2 separate regions of the Homo sapiens genome follow, and region 2 is linked to region 1. Evidence: promoter capture Hi-C in 16 types of primary human blood cells and fetal thymus (Javierre and others, 2016). All regions are on one chromosome and are shown on one strand. Each heading gives the region's core, a stretch centred on a gene start or on the middle of the fragment in contact. The rest is flanking DNA. Distances are from core to core; before and after follow the strand shown. Region 1 holds the start of TIMM10 (translocase of inner mitochondrial membrane 10). Region 2 overlaps LPXN (leupaxin).

Region 1 (5,864 bases), core at 3,118-5,617:
TGAGCAGCTGGGGAGATGGAGAGTTGCTGTTCAATGGGTATACAATTTCAGTTATGCAAGATGAATAAGTTCTAGAAATCTGTGTACAATATGGTACATATAGTTAACAATACTATTTTGTGCACTTAAAAATTTGTTGGCCGGGCGCGGTGTATAAAGCACTTTGGGAGGCCAAGGCAGGTGGATCATGAGGTCAGGAGACTGAGACCATCCTGGCCAACATGGTGAAACCCCATCTCTACTAAAAACACAAAAATTAGCTGGGTGTGGTGGCATGCGCCTGTAGTCCCAGCTACTTGGGAGGCTGAGTCAGGAGAATCCCTTGAACCTGGGAGGCAGAGGCTGTAGTGAGCGGAGATCGTGCCACTATCCTCCAGTCTGGTGACAGAGCGAGACTCCGTTTAAAAAAATTTTTTTTGTTAAGCAGGGCCCAGTGCAGTGACTCATGCCTGTAATGCCAGTGCTTTGGGAGGCTGAGGCAGGAGGATCGCTTGAGGCCAGGAGTTTGAAACCAGCCTGGACAACATAGCAAGACCCTATCTCTACAAAAAATTTTAAAAACCACTCAGGCATGGTGGCTTGCGCCTGTAGTCCTAGCTATTCAGGAGGCTGAGATGGGAGGATTGCTTGAGCCCAGGAGTTTAAGCTAACAGTGAGCTATGATTGGGTCTCTGCACTCCAGGCTGAGCGACAGAGACCCTGTCTCAAGGAAAAAATAAATAAATAAAAGGGCTTTATCTGTTAGAGATAAAAATAGATGAAGAAAATATGGACAAATGTTAACAATTCCTAAGTCCTGGTGATGAATATATGGAAGCTCAATGTCCTGTTCTCTCTGCTTTTCTGTATGTTTTAAATATTCCATCTGGGCATGGGGTGGCTCATGCCTGTAATCCCAGCACTTTGAGAGGCCAAGACAGGAGGATTGTTTGAGCCCAGGAGTTTGAAACCAGCCTGGGAAACATGATGAGACCCTATCTCTTAAAAAAAAAAATTAGCCAGGCATGGTGGCTCATGCCTCTAGTTCCAGCTACTTAGGAGGCTGAGGTAAGAGGATTGCTTAAGCCAAGGAGTTCACGATTGCAGTGAGCACTGATCATACCATTGCACTCAAGCCTGGGTGACAAGGCAAGATCCTGCCTCAAAAATCCTAAGTAAAAATAAAAATAAATTTGCCCCAGTGAAAGTTTAAAAATGAAAAAGAATGAAAACAATGATTTATTTTTATTGAGCATCTACCATGGACTAGGTACTTTACTTACACAATCTTTTATATAAATATTTTTCTTTCTTTCTTTATGGCCAGCTCTTACTCATACTTGTATAATCTTATTTGTTTTCTTTTTTGTAGAGATTTTTAAAACTTTTTATTTAGAAATAATTATAGTTTCACAGGAAGTTGCATTAATAGTACAGAGAGGTCCTGTACGCCCTTTACCAACTTCCACTAAAGGTTAAATCTAACATAACTATATTCAATATCAAAGCCAGATAATTTATATTGGTACAATGTGTGTGTGTAGTAGTTCTATGACTTTTTTTTTCTTTCTTTTTTTTTTTTAGACCGAGTCTTGCTCTGTCGCCCAAGCTGGAGTGCAGTGGCACAATCTCGGCTCACTGCAACTTCTGCCTCCCGCCTCCCGGGTTCAAGCGATTCTCCTGTCTCGCCCTCCTGAGTAGCTGGGACTATAGGCGCATGCCACCACACCCGGCTGATTTTTTTTATTTTAGTAGAGACGGGGTTTCACCATGTTAACCAGGATGGTCTCGATCTCCTGACCTCGTGATCCACCCGCCTCGGCCTCCCAAAGTGTTGGGATTACAGGTGTGAGCCACCGCGCCTGGCTTTTTTTTTTTTTTTGAGACGGAGTCTCACTCTGTCGCCTGGGCTGGAGTGCAGTGGCACGATCTCGGCTCACTGCAACCTCCACCTCCCGGGTTCAAACGATTCTCCTGCCTCAGGCTCCTGAGTAGCTGGGGTTACAGGTGCCCGCCACTACCCCCAGCTAATTTTTTGTATTTTTAGTAGAGACGGAGTTTCACCAACAAGGCTGGTCTCGAACTCCTACCTTGTGATTCGCTCGCCTGGGCCTCCCACAGTGCTGGGATTACAGGCGTGAGCCACCGCACCCTGCCAGTTCTATGACATCTTATCACCTGTGTAGATTCTTGTAACCACCACCACAATCAGGATACAGAATTATCCATCAACACAAAGATCTCTCTTGTGCTACCCTTTACAGGTACACTTCTATCTCCCCATCAACCCTAACACTAGACAATCAGAAATCTCTTCTCCATCTCTATAATTTTGTGATTTTGAGAATGTTACTTAAATGAAATCATACAGTATGCAACCTTTCATAAGGCCCAGTAGATATTGCAAGATTCCTCTTGTAAGAAACCATCTCCTTTTCCCACGCAGTTTCTTAACTTTCCATAATGTTTCTTTTTTGCGGGGAGTGGGGGGTCGGAGTTTCACTCTTGTTGCCCAGGCTGGAGTGCAATGGTGCGATCTTGGCTCACTGCAACCTCTGCCTCCCGGGTTCAAGTGTTTCTCCTGCCTTAGCCTCCTGCTTAGCCTCTTGAGTAGCTGGGATTACAAGCACCCGTCACCACACCGGGCTACTTTTTTGTATTTTTAGTAGAGATGGGGTTTCACCAAGTTGGCCAGGCTGGTCTCGAACTCCTGACCTCAGGTGATCCACCCACCTCAGCCTCCCAAAGTGCTGGGATTACAGGCGTGAGCCACTGCACCCGGCCAATGTTGACTATATTTTCAAAGGCAAAAACCAAGGCAAGATATGTCCATCTGTACAAGAGTATCATAGCAGCATTATTGCATAATAGGCAAAAACTGGAAACAATCCAAACATCCACCAACGGGAGAATGGATAGATGAATTGTGGCATACTCATACAATCAAACACTAGACAGCAATAAAACAGAAGGAATAACAGATGCACACAACAATATGGAGGAAATCTTACAGGTACATTGAGCTAAAGAAGTCAGGCACAAAATAGAAAATAATGTATAATTCCATTTACACGAAGTTCAAGAACAAGGAAAACTAATTGATGGTGATAGAGGTCAGAATAGTGGTTAACTTCGAGAGGGGGTATTGATGGGGAAGGAACACAAGATAACTTTTTGGGGTGCAGGAAGTATTTTATATCTTGATCTGGATGGCGGTTATACAAATGTACATATATAGATACATATATATTTAATTAAGCTTAACATTCGTGTATTTTATGCACTTTATGAATGTTATACCCCAATCTTTAAAAATCAGGGCACAAGTTTGGCAAAGATGAGTCTTCAAAGCAGTAGAAAGGTCAATTGTTTAAAATTAGGATGGTCTTGGACAATTAGGGAAGCTTATGATGACCACACAGAAAATGTCTAGCCCACCTTTTCCAATGGGCAATGTGCCCTTGCGTCATTAATTTACATCTTGTAAATTTATTTTACCAGGAAATTGTGTGACAAATCAAGGGACTGAGTATTGTTTCCTTGTTTCCTTCTTTTTAGTGGGGAATGAGTGAATGGTGCAGTTTGAAGAACACATTAAGTCTTGAAAGTTGGAAAGTTCACCAGTACCCTTCTTTCCCTCACCCAAGATTAGCCCTGGTGGCAGCCGAAATTGCTTTTATTATCTCTTTGTGGCTGAGGACCTCTAACTGTTGAAGAAAACATATTTTACACGTCTTGTCTTTCTGCGAACAGGAAGCCTATCTCGCTTATCTTTGCAACCCCAGACGGGGCTTAGTGTGACCTACACACAGCAGTAATCGCACAACGTCCCGTGGAGCACTGCTTCTCAAATTTGGCTGTACATACGAATCACCTGGGGAATTTTAAATTGTATTGCTGCCTGAGGAATTTTAAACTGTACTCCCAGAGATTCTGATTTAATTGAAATGAGGTGAGTCCTGGGCACTGGGATGTTTAAAAACGTTCCAGGTGATTTTAACGCGAAACAAAAACAGAACCGCTGTTTGGGGGCGTTCTTCCTTCTCCACGCCTGATTTGCGCACAGGAGTCGGCTGTCTGGAACGGGGGTGAGGTTCACAGGTGTCTGTCGCCACGCCTCTTCCTACAGAACCAATAAACTGAAGCCGCTCGGTGACATCCCAAAGGACTTGAATTCTGATCGGGCTGCAGACGCTCTGCACCCCGCCCAAGCTTCTATGGTACTTTGGTGTCCTCTCTAGCACTGGCAAGTCGCCTTCCTCTTCGCCCGGCGCCAGCCGCTCCCTCTCTATGATCGCCGAGTTCCCGGCGCCGTCTCGTTGGTATTTAATTCCGGAAGCGAGTTTGAATCAAAGAAGAGGCGGGACTTTCCTCCCGGAAGTAACCCACGTGCTTCCGCTGGAGCCTCTCGGGAGGCGGGTAACGTTATAGTATTTGTCAGAAGTTGGGGTCTCCGTGGGCATTGTGATCCGTCCCAGGCAGTGGTAAGTGACACATGACCTCTGAATTCAATGTGGCCCTGATGATGGCGTCGCCATTTCAGAGGTGTAGCCTTTGGGCTGGGTCCCGGTCGCCTCTGTTCAGCGTATGATCCCATTCCCAGGGCCCTGGAGGTTCAGGTTCGTGGGTTAGAGAGTTCTCCTCCGGTCCTCGATCTCCTGAATAGAGGTGACCTCCAGGAACTGGGGCATCAGAGATCCGGGGCTCGATTTCCAGGCTCGCCATAGACGTCCTGTGCGACCTTGGGCTAGGCCTCAGTTTCCACATCCGTGAAATGGGGTGGTTAAGCTCACTGAGGTTAGTGGCCCGTGGTGGTCTGGCGCCCTGTGAGTCCTCTGTATCCTCTAGCCCCAGGGGTAGGAGAGTGAACGGCGGCGGTGGGTGCTGATGGTGATGTCTGCTCCCAGGATTAGGAGGCCAGAAGGAGATCCCTTCCACGGTGCTAGGCTGAGATGGATCCTCTCAGGGCCCAACAGCTGGCTGCGGAGCTGGAGGTGGAGATGATGGCCGATATGTACAACAGGTAAAGAGAACTATGTGCTACCCTGTCTTGGAAAATAAGTCTTGGTCACCCTTATCGAAGGTGAATGACTTATGACAAATTCCTTCCTGAATGTAGGGGAGCCTGAGGCCCATGCTTACCCTCCCCACACCCACCTTCAAGGTTGATCCTAATGTAGATGCAGTAAAGGGTCACTAGAATGAGTTGGGCATTTAGATGGGGATGGAACTGGCAATGCAGGAGCCAAGCAGGAAGAGAAACTCCAATCCAGGCTCTGGTTAGGTTCCAAGAAAAGCTGAGTATTTGCCTCTTGACAAATAGCACATAGCCAGCCCATTTAGTAGTTAACATTTTAAAACCCTTTATTCTGTGTCAGGCACTTGTTAATCTTCAAAATAATCCAGTGGGTTAATTTTATTAGTCCCGTCTTAAAATGAGGAAATTGATGATTCTAGAGGTTAAGTAACTTCCTTAGGGTCGGCAGCTGGTCAGTAACAATGCCAGAACTAGCACCTCAGTCTGATTCTGCAACTAGTGCTCATAACCATTTGGCAAATTTGGGAACAAATCCTGGCTCCACCAATCACCAGCAGTATAATTGGACATGTTACTTGCACTGTTTGACAATTGGTTTCCTCATTATGAAGAAGACATAATGATACCTACCTCATAGGACATCATAAATATTAAATCTAAAAATATATGAAAGCCCTTAGCCTCAAGCCCAACACTTAGTGAAATGTCTGCTATTTTTATTGGCTTAAGCTCTCTTGATTGGTTGGTTTATCCTGAAGGCTATAAATTAGAAGGATTTTTAAGTGTAGACTGTGAGGTCAGATGACCTGGCTTCATAACCCAGCTCTGTGTGATCCTTAGAAAATTA
Region 2 (6,277 bases), core at 2,999-5,498, 1.0 Mb before region 1:
TGTATTTGGGAATTTTATACAATGATCCCCCAAAAACTGTCAGTTTTTGTTTTATTTCTTGTTTTCTGTTTCACTAATTTATGCATTTATTCCTTCTGTTGAATTATTTTAGATTTTTCTGAGACTCTTGACTTGGAAGTTTTATTTATTTCTGATCTTTCTCACTTTTTAATATCACACTTAAGTCTATTTATATATTTTCTTCTCAATAACATTTAGCTTTCAACTCCCAAAGGCGTGTGTGTGTGTGTGTGTGTGTGCATGTGTGTGAGTGTGTGTGTGTGTGTGTTTTCATTGCTATTTCTAACTGGTTTGAAAATTCAGTTTAATTTTTTTATCCCAAGAATTATTTAGAAGTGCTTTGTTTTTTCTTAAGTGGATAGTTTTTATGATTAATTTGTACTTCTATTCACTCCAATCTAAGAATATGGTCTATATGATGTACTTTTAAAAATTTATTGAGCTTTACTTTGTATCTTCATACATAGTTAATTTTACTAATGTTTATGCAGCTACTTGAATAGAATCTGTATTCTGTTTATTGGGTCCAAAGTTTTATTTATTTATAATTTACTTACAATTATATGAATATGAAATCATCATCATATATATTATCTAAACTTTCTGCACCAGAGATTTGCAAACTTGTTCTGTAAAGAGGCAGATAGTAAGTTTGTTAGGCTTTTGTGGACTATAAAGTCTTTGTAGCAACTACCCAACTGTTCAGAAAAGCAGCTATGGACAGTAGATAAATGAATGGACATGGCCAGATTTGATCCAAGGACCTTAGTTTGTTGATGCCTGCTCTATATTCTAGTTTATTTTTATTTTTTGACAAAAACTGACAGGAGATATAATACTTTTTATAATTAGATGACCAGGGAGAAATAGAGAAAAAAGGCAGAGAGAACTTGTTTAGATTTTTGGTCTAGTACATATTAATATATTTTTAAAATACCCCCATCTCTGATTTTAGCTTCATATCCAGGGGATTCATTATTACAGTTGCATTTCCAGTACTTTATGTGTGGTTTAACATTATTTGAGTTTTGATTTGTTCATATGACTTTTTTGTTTTCCCTCTATAGTGAAGCCCAAGAGCCAAAGGAATCACCACCACCTTCTAAAACGTCAGCAGCTGCTCAGTTGGATGAGCTCATGGCTCACCTGACTGAGATGCAGGCCAAGGTGAGTGCAGGCCAAGGTGAGTGCAGGCCAAGGTGAGTGCAGTCCAGATGATAAACAGGGCCCATGGGGTCACCAGTTTATCTTTGTGGAACTCAGCTCTCCATTCTCCCACTTAGGAATTTTCCTAAGTTGTCATTGCTTTTTTCAGACTAAATTTAATTCCATGAATTAACCCATCTTTGTACTATGTGTTATTTGGACACAAAAATTAATATATAATACAGACTTTGATCTCAAGGAGCTGGAGTGTGCTTGGCAAAATGAGGCATAAGTTTCTTAACATTTATAGAATAAAAGCCAGGTGTTTTGCAAACATATGTGGAGCAAACATTACGGATATAGAGAGATTTTGGAGATTTAATCAGAGTTGAAACTTGGGATGGACTCTGAAGAACTGGCAGAGTTTGGACATAAAGAGATGGGAAGAAAGGTGGTTTTAGTTGCAATGAGTCCTGAGGGCAGAGGTATCTAAGGCTTGATGATGTGGAAGGATTTTTCATTTGTTTGTTTGTTTGTTTGTTTGTTTTTGAGATGGAGTCTTGCTCTGTTGCCCAGGCTAGAGTGTAGTAGCGCTATCTTGGCTTACTGCAACCTCCGCCTCCCAGGTTCAAGCGATCCTCCTGCCTCAGCCTTCCGAGTAGCTGGGATTACAGGTGCCCACCACTGTGCACGGCTCATTTTTGTTGTATTTTTAGTAGAGACGGAGTTTCACCATCTTGGCCAGGCTGGTCTCGAACTCCTGACTTCGTGATCCACCTGCCTCGGCCTCCCAAAGTGCTGGGATTACAGGCGTGAGCCACTGCGCCCGGCCAAAAGGACTGTTAAAGAGACCTGACTAAGCAGGACAGAGGAGACCAGTGAGCAAGCTGAGACACAGCAAGGGAGATCAAAGTATGGCTCTGACAGTAGGAAGGATGAGAAGTCCCAAGCCCATATTGAGATAAAATCTGCCTCTTTGTTCTAGCCTCTAGAACACCTCTAAAGTGGTGAGCTCACATAGTCGGGCATGGAATGGAAATCTCAGATAAATGGGCTTAAAGATTTATTAAAGGAAATATAATCCAGAATCCTTAAGGTGGAGAATCCAACCATTTTAAATCTGGTTGGAGGATTTGATATATACTCATGAGATGACTATGAAATAATTTCAAAGCAGTATATAAAAATGTATATGATTGGAGAGGGCAGGGACCTTATCTTTAGAGCTCACCTTGGGACTCCCAATGCTCAGCACAGGGCCTGATACATCGTGAGCAACACATATTTATTAGAGAGATGAGTAAATAAACATCACAAACAAGTTTTCCTTAATGACTGACATCCTTTGATGGGCCAGTGTCTACAATAAAGCTGGGTAGATTGGCTCATTATGCTGTATATCTGAAAATACTAGAAAAAATGTACATTAGATTTAATTGTGTTGCGTTTCTAGTTGATTTAGCTTGTGTATTGGTTGATTTAAATTTTTAATTTACAACACCATCTTTTTTTTTTTTTTTTTTTTTGAGACAGATTCTTACTCGGTTACCCAGCCTGGAGTGCAGTGGCATGATCTCGGCTCACTGCAACCTCCACCTCCTGGGTTCAAGCGATTCTAGTGCCTCAGCCTCCTGAGTAGCTGTGATTACAGGCGTGTGCCACCATGCCCAGCTAATTTTTGTATTTTTAGTAGAGACGAGGTTTTGCTATGTTGCCCAGACTGGTCTCAAACTTCTAAGCTCAGGCCACCTGTCTGCCTCGGCCTCTCAAAGTACTAGGATTACAGGCATGAACCACTGTGCCCGGCCCCATTTATCTTTTGAATAAGCTGCACTTTCACATTGTACACAAATCAAAAGTGCAAAAAGCTTGCACTGAACTGTTTCCTTCTCAGCTCTGCACCCTAGCCATCCAGTTCTGCCCCACCGGAGATAGGCAGAATTTCCTGTCTCTTCTATATCTGTTCAGAAGTATTCTGGAAGATAACAGTGAAGAGATAGAGATGTAGGTGTAGATGTAGTTATATTGTATTTTTACTTATTTTTCATAATTAATGTCAGTCACCCTTTCAGACCTTTCAGACACTAACCTTCTGAACACTAACCTCTTGAATATTAACTAACATATATTAGAGAAGGAAGGATGTCTGTCAGATGATCAAAATGTCTCGAAGCAAAATGAGCATTTTGATTGGTGACAGTGTGATGTTATAACAGGCAGTAAAAGTAGGATAAGTAGAGGTCTTAAGGCAGACAGTAACAGATCACATTCAGGAGATGAAGAGCCCAGCTGTCCTTTTACAACATAGTATTAATAAAAGATGAAATTGGGAAAGATAAAAAGGGAGGACAGTGGATGGGAGGCTTTGAATGTCTGTCTGATGAGTGAAGACTTGATGTGGTGGCAATGGAGAGCCATTGTAGTTTTCTGATGAGTGAAGTATTCAGTAGATAGATGGTAGCAGTCGCCCAGCTGGAAAGGAGTAGAGAGAGCCAGAATCAGGTTATGAGGTTATGAAGGGTCAGTTAGCCTTTTTTTTTTTTCTTTTAATTTGAGGATCCTTCTTTGAATGGTTTATAATAATTTTGGGCTTTTGCTTAAATAATTCCAATCCATCAACAAGTCTTATCTGACCACTTCTCACCACCTTCTCCTGTAATACTGATCTAAGTCATTATCTGAAAATCTCCCTGTATTCACTCTTGCTTGTCAACACTTAGTTCTCCACTCAGCTACCACAGGGATCCTCCAGATTCCTTCACTCCTGTGCTTGAAATCCTGCAATGGCTTCCATCACCTTGGAATAAAACCCAAGCGTTTACCATGAGGTTCCTATGTGATCTTTGCCTCTCTCTCCATCACCTTCTCCTGCCGTGTTCAATCTCACTCCCTCTGCTCTAGCCCCACTGACCTCTTTGACTTTTCTTCTAATGTGCCAAGTTGTTTTATTCCTCGGGGCCTTCCCTTCCCCTAGAATGCTTTTCCCATAAATGTCAATATTTCTAAGTCCCAAGTATCTACTCAAATATTACTTCCTTAGAGGGGCCTTCTTTGATTATTACCTCCATCTAAATCAATTCTTCTTACCATCTTGCTGTGTCCCTTCTATCTCTTTCTATAACTTATCTCTGTCTGACATTACAACATATATTTATTTATTTAATTATTTATTGTCTATCGCCCACAGAATGCAATTCCATGAGGCCAGACACTTGGTCTGTCTTATCTTTGCTTTAATCCAAGTGCTTAGAGCAGTGATTGGCACAAACCAGGTATTCAACAATTATTGCCAAATAAATGAGTAAAAGGGAGATGTGACTAATTTTTGAACTGGGGTCATCCTAAGATCTTCAAAGGGTATCATCTTCATGTACTAAATTTCCTACATTAAGAAAAGATTTACAAATATAAAATTAGTCAGATTTCATTTGGCCTGAGGAGTTTAGGATGAAAGGGAGATGAAAAGATTTTTATTGGTGTTGAAATTTTAGATTTTTCCAATGTCTTGCAGGAAGGTTGGGGAAAGGCCAAGAGATCAGTCAGTAGAGGTGAATTTATAGAGTCATTAGAAGATGCCAATGAGAATAAAAATGAGGCTGATTCTGTTCTTGGTTCTTCCCTTGGGCCAGGTTGCAGTGAGAGCAGATGCTGGCAAGAAGCACTTACCAGACAAGCAGGATCACAAGGCCTCCCTGGACTCAATGCTTGGGGGTCTGGAGCAGGAATTGCAGGACCTTGGCATTGCCACAGTGCCCAAGGGCCATTGTGCATCCTGCCAGAAACCGATTGCTGGGAAGGTGAGATGGGCTGAAATTTTGGTCCTACAGCCTTCTTTGTCTCTCTCTGTCTCATCAAGGTTTGCTCTTTCCCCTTATATTTTAAGATATTTTAGTTAGCATTAATAATTACTAATCACTTACAGTGCTCTGGCCACTGAGCTAAGTGCTTTACAAGTATTTCCTCATTTAATGGTCACATCAGCCCTTCAAGAAGAATGATTGCTCCCTTTGTAAAGATGAGGAAACTGAGGACTCAGAGACATTAATGGACATATCCAAGGCATAATAAGAGGTAGAGGTAAGATCTGAAACCAGGAGACTGTCTCCTGAGTTTGAGTTCTTGACCATTTTTCTGTACTGCCTTTACTGAGATGACCTTTCTCACTGCTCCCTTTGTTCACACATTCCCAGTCTAAATTGATTGATTACAATTTTCAGCTGAACTCAGCTCCAAGTCACAGCTGCAAACTCCTGTTCTGCATCGTCCTTCACCGAAGCTATGATAAAAAGCTTTGAGACCTGACTGCATGGGGCGTGGAATAAAGTGTTCAAACTAGAGGAATAAAAACTGTCATTTGGCCTTTTCCTCTTCCAGGGGTCCCTTCCACACTAAGGCTACAGTTACAACTTCTCTGTCATCAATGTGCTATATGTTGTTTCTGCCACCCCCTGTGGCAGTGCAGTGGTTGTGAACATTTACAGGCTTTCATCACAGTGATCAGTCCCGGAAGTGGGCATCCTTTTATTATCAATCCATAAAGCACAGACCACAGATGGCCTTAGGTGGAACCTAGGTCTAGGCCTCAGTGTTGTATAATTCCAGGGCGTGTTGTCTACAAGGGGTACAATGTGAAGAGTGCTCCCTAGAGTTGTGCAACCTGTAGGCTGTAGAGCACTCAACTGGCCTCCTGTGTCAGGCTTTATTTCACTCCACAGGTGATCCATGCTCTAGGGCAATCATGGCATCCTGAGCATTTTGTCTGTACTCATTGCAAAGAAGAGATTGGCTCCAGTCCCTTCTTTGAGCGGAGTGGCTTGGCCTACTGCCCCAACGACTACCACCAACTTTTTTCTCCACGCTGTGCTTACTGCGCTGCTCCCATCCTGGATGTAAGTAAATCCCCGCTCCTCTCCAGCTTTCAGTCACTCACTTAGAACCAGAGTCATGCTTTACAACTTCTGCATCATTATAATATCTGTGTGTTCCCTTTCCAGAAAGTGCTGACAGCAATGAACCAGACCTGGCACCCAGAGCACTTCTTCTGCTCTCACTGCGGAGAGGTGTTTGGTGCAGAAGGTATGACCCGACTTGAGAGGCTGTATCCCACACC

What was found. The method cuts DNA at HindIII sites, captures the fragments that hold promoters and counts their contacts. A CHiCAGO score of 5 or more calls a contact.
Region 2: a fragment that was not itself captured here is called in contact with the fragment with the promoter of TIMM10 in region 1 in 4 of 17 cell types (total CD4 T cells, non-activated CD4 T cells, total CD8 T cells and 1 more); the score reaches 10.2 in total CD4 T cells.

Annotation. Positions count from the first base shown.
Region 1 is chr11:57,529,257-57,535,120 of GRCh38, reverse strand. TIMM10 (translocase of inner mitochondrial membrane 10) reads left to right here and starts at 4,367. Exons shown (of 3, transcript NM_012456.3): 1 at 4,367-4,463; 2 at 4,887-5,002. The coding sequence starts at 4,932. RefSeq lists an enhancer at 4,188-4,367. The HindIII fragment of the contact is 3,024 bases long and covers 4,194-5,864 here.
Region 2 is chr11:58,549,752-58,556,028 of GRCh38, reverse strand. It overlaps LPXN (leupaxin), which reads left to right. Exons shown (of 9, transcript NM_004811.3): 4 at 1,089-1,188; 5 at 4,797-4,964; 6 at 5,883-6,056; 7 at 6,162-6,243. Among named protein-coding and RNA genes, the nearest start is that of LPXN, 23 kb to the left of the region's middle. The HindIII fragment of the contact is 2,421 bases long and covers 3,038-5,458 here.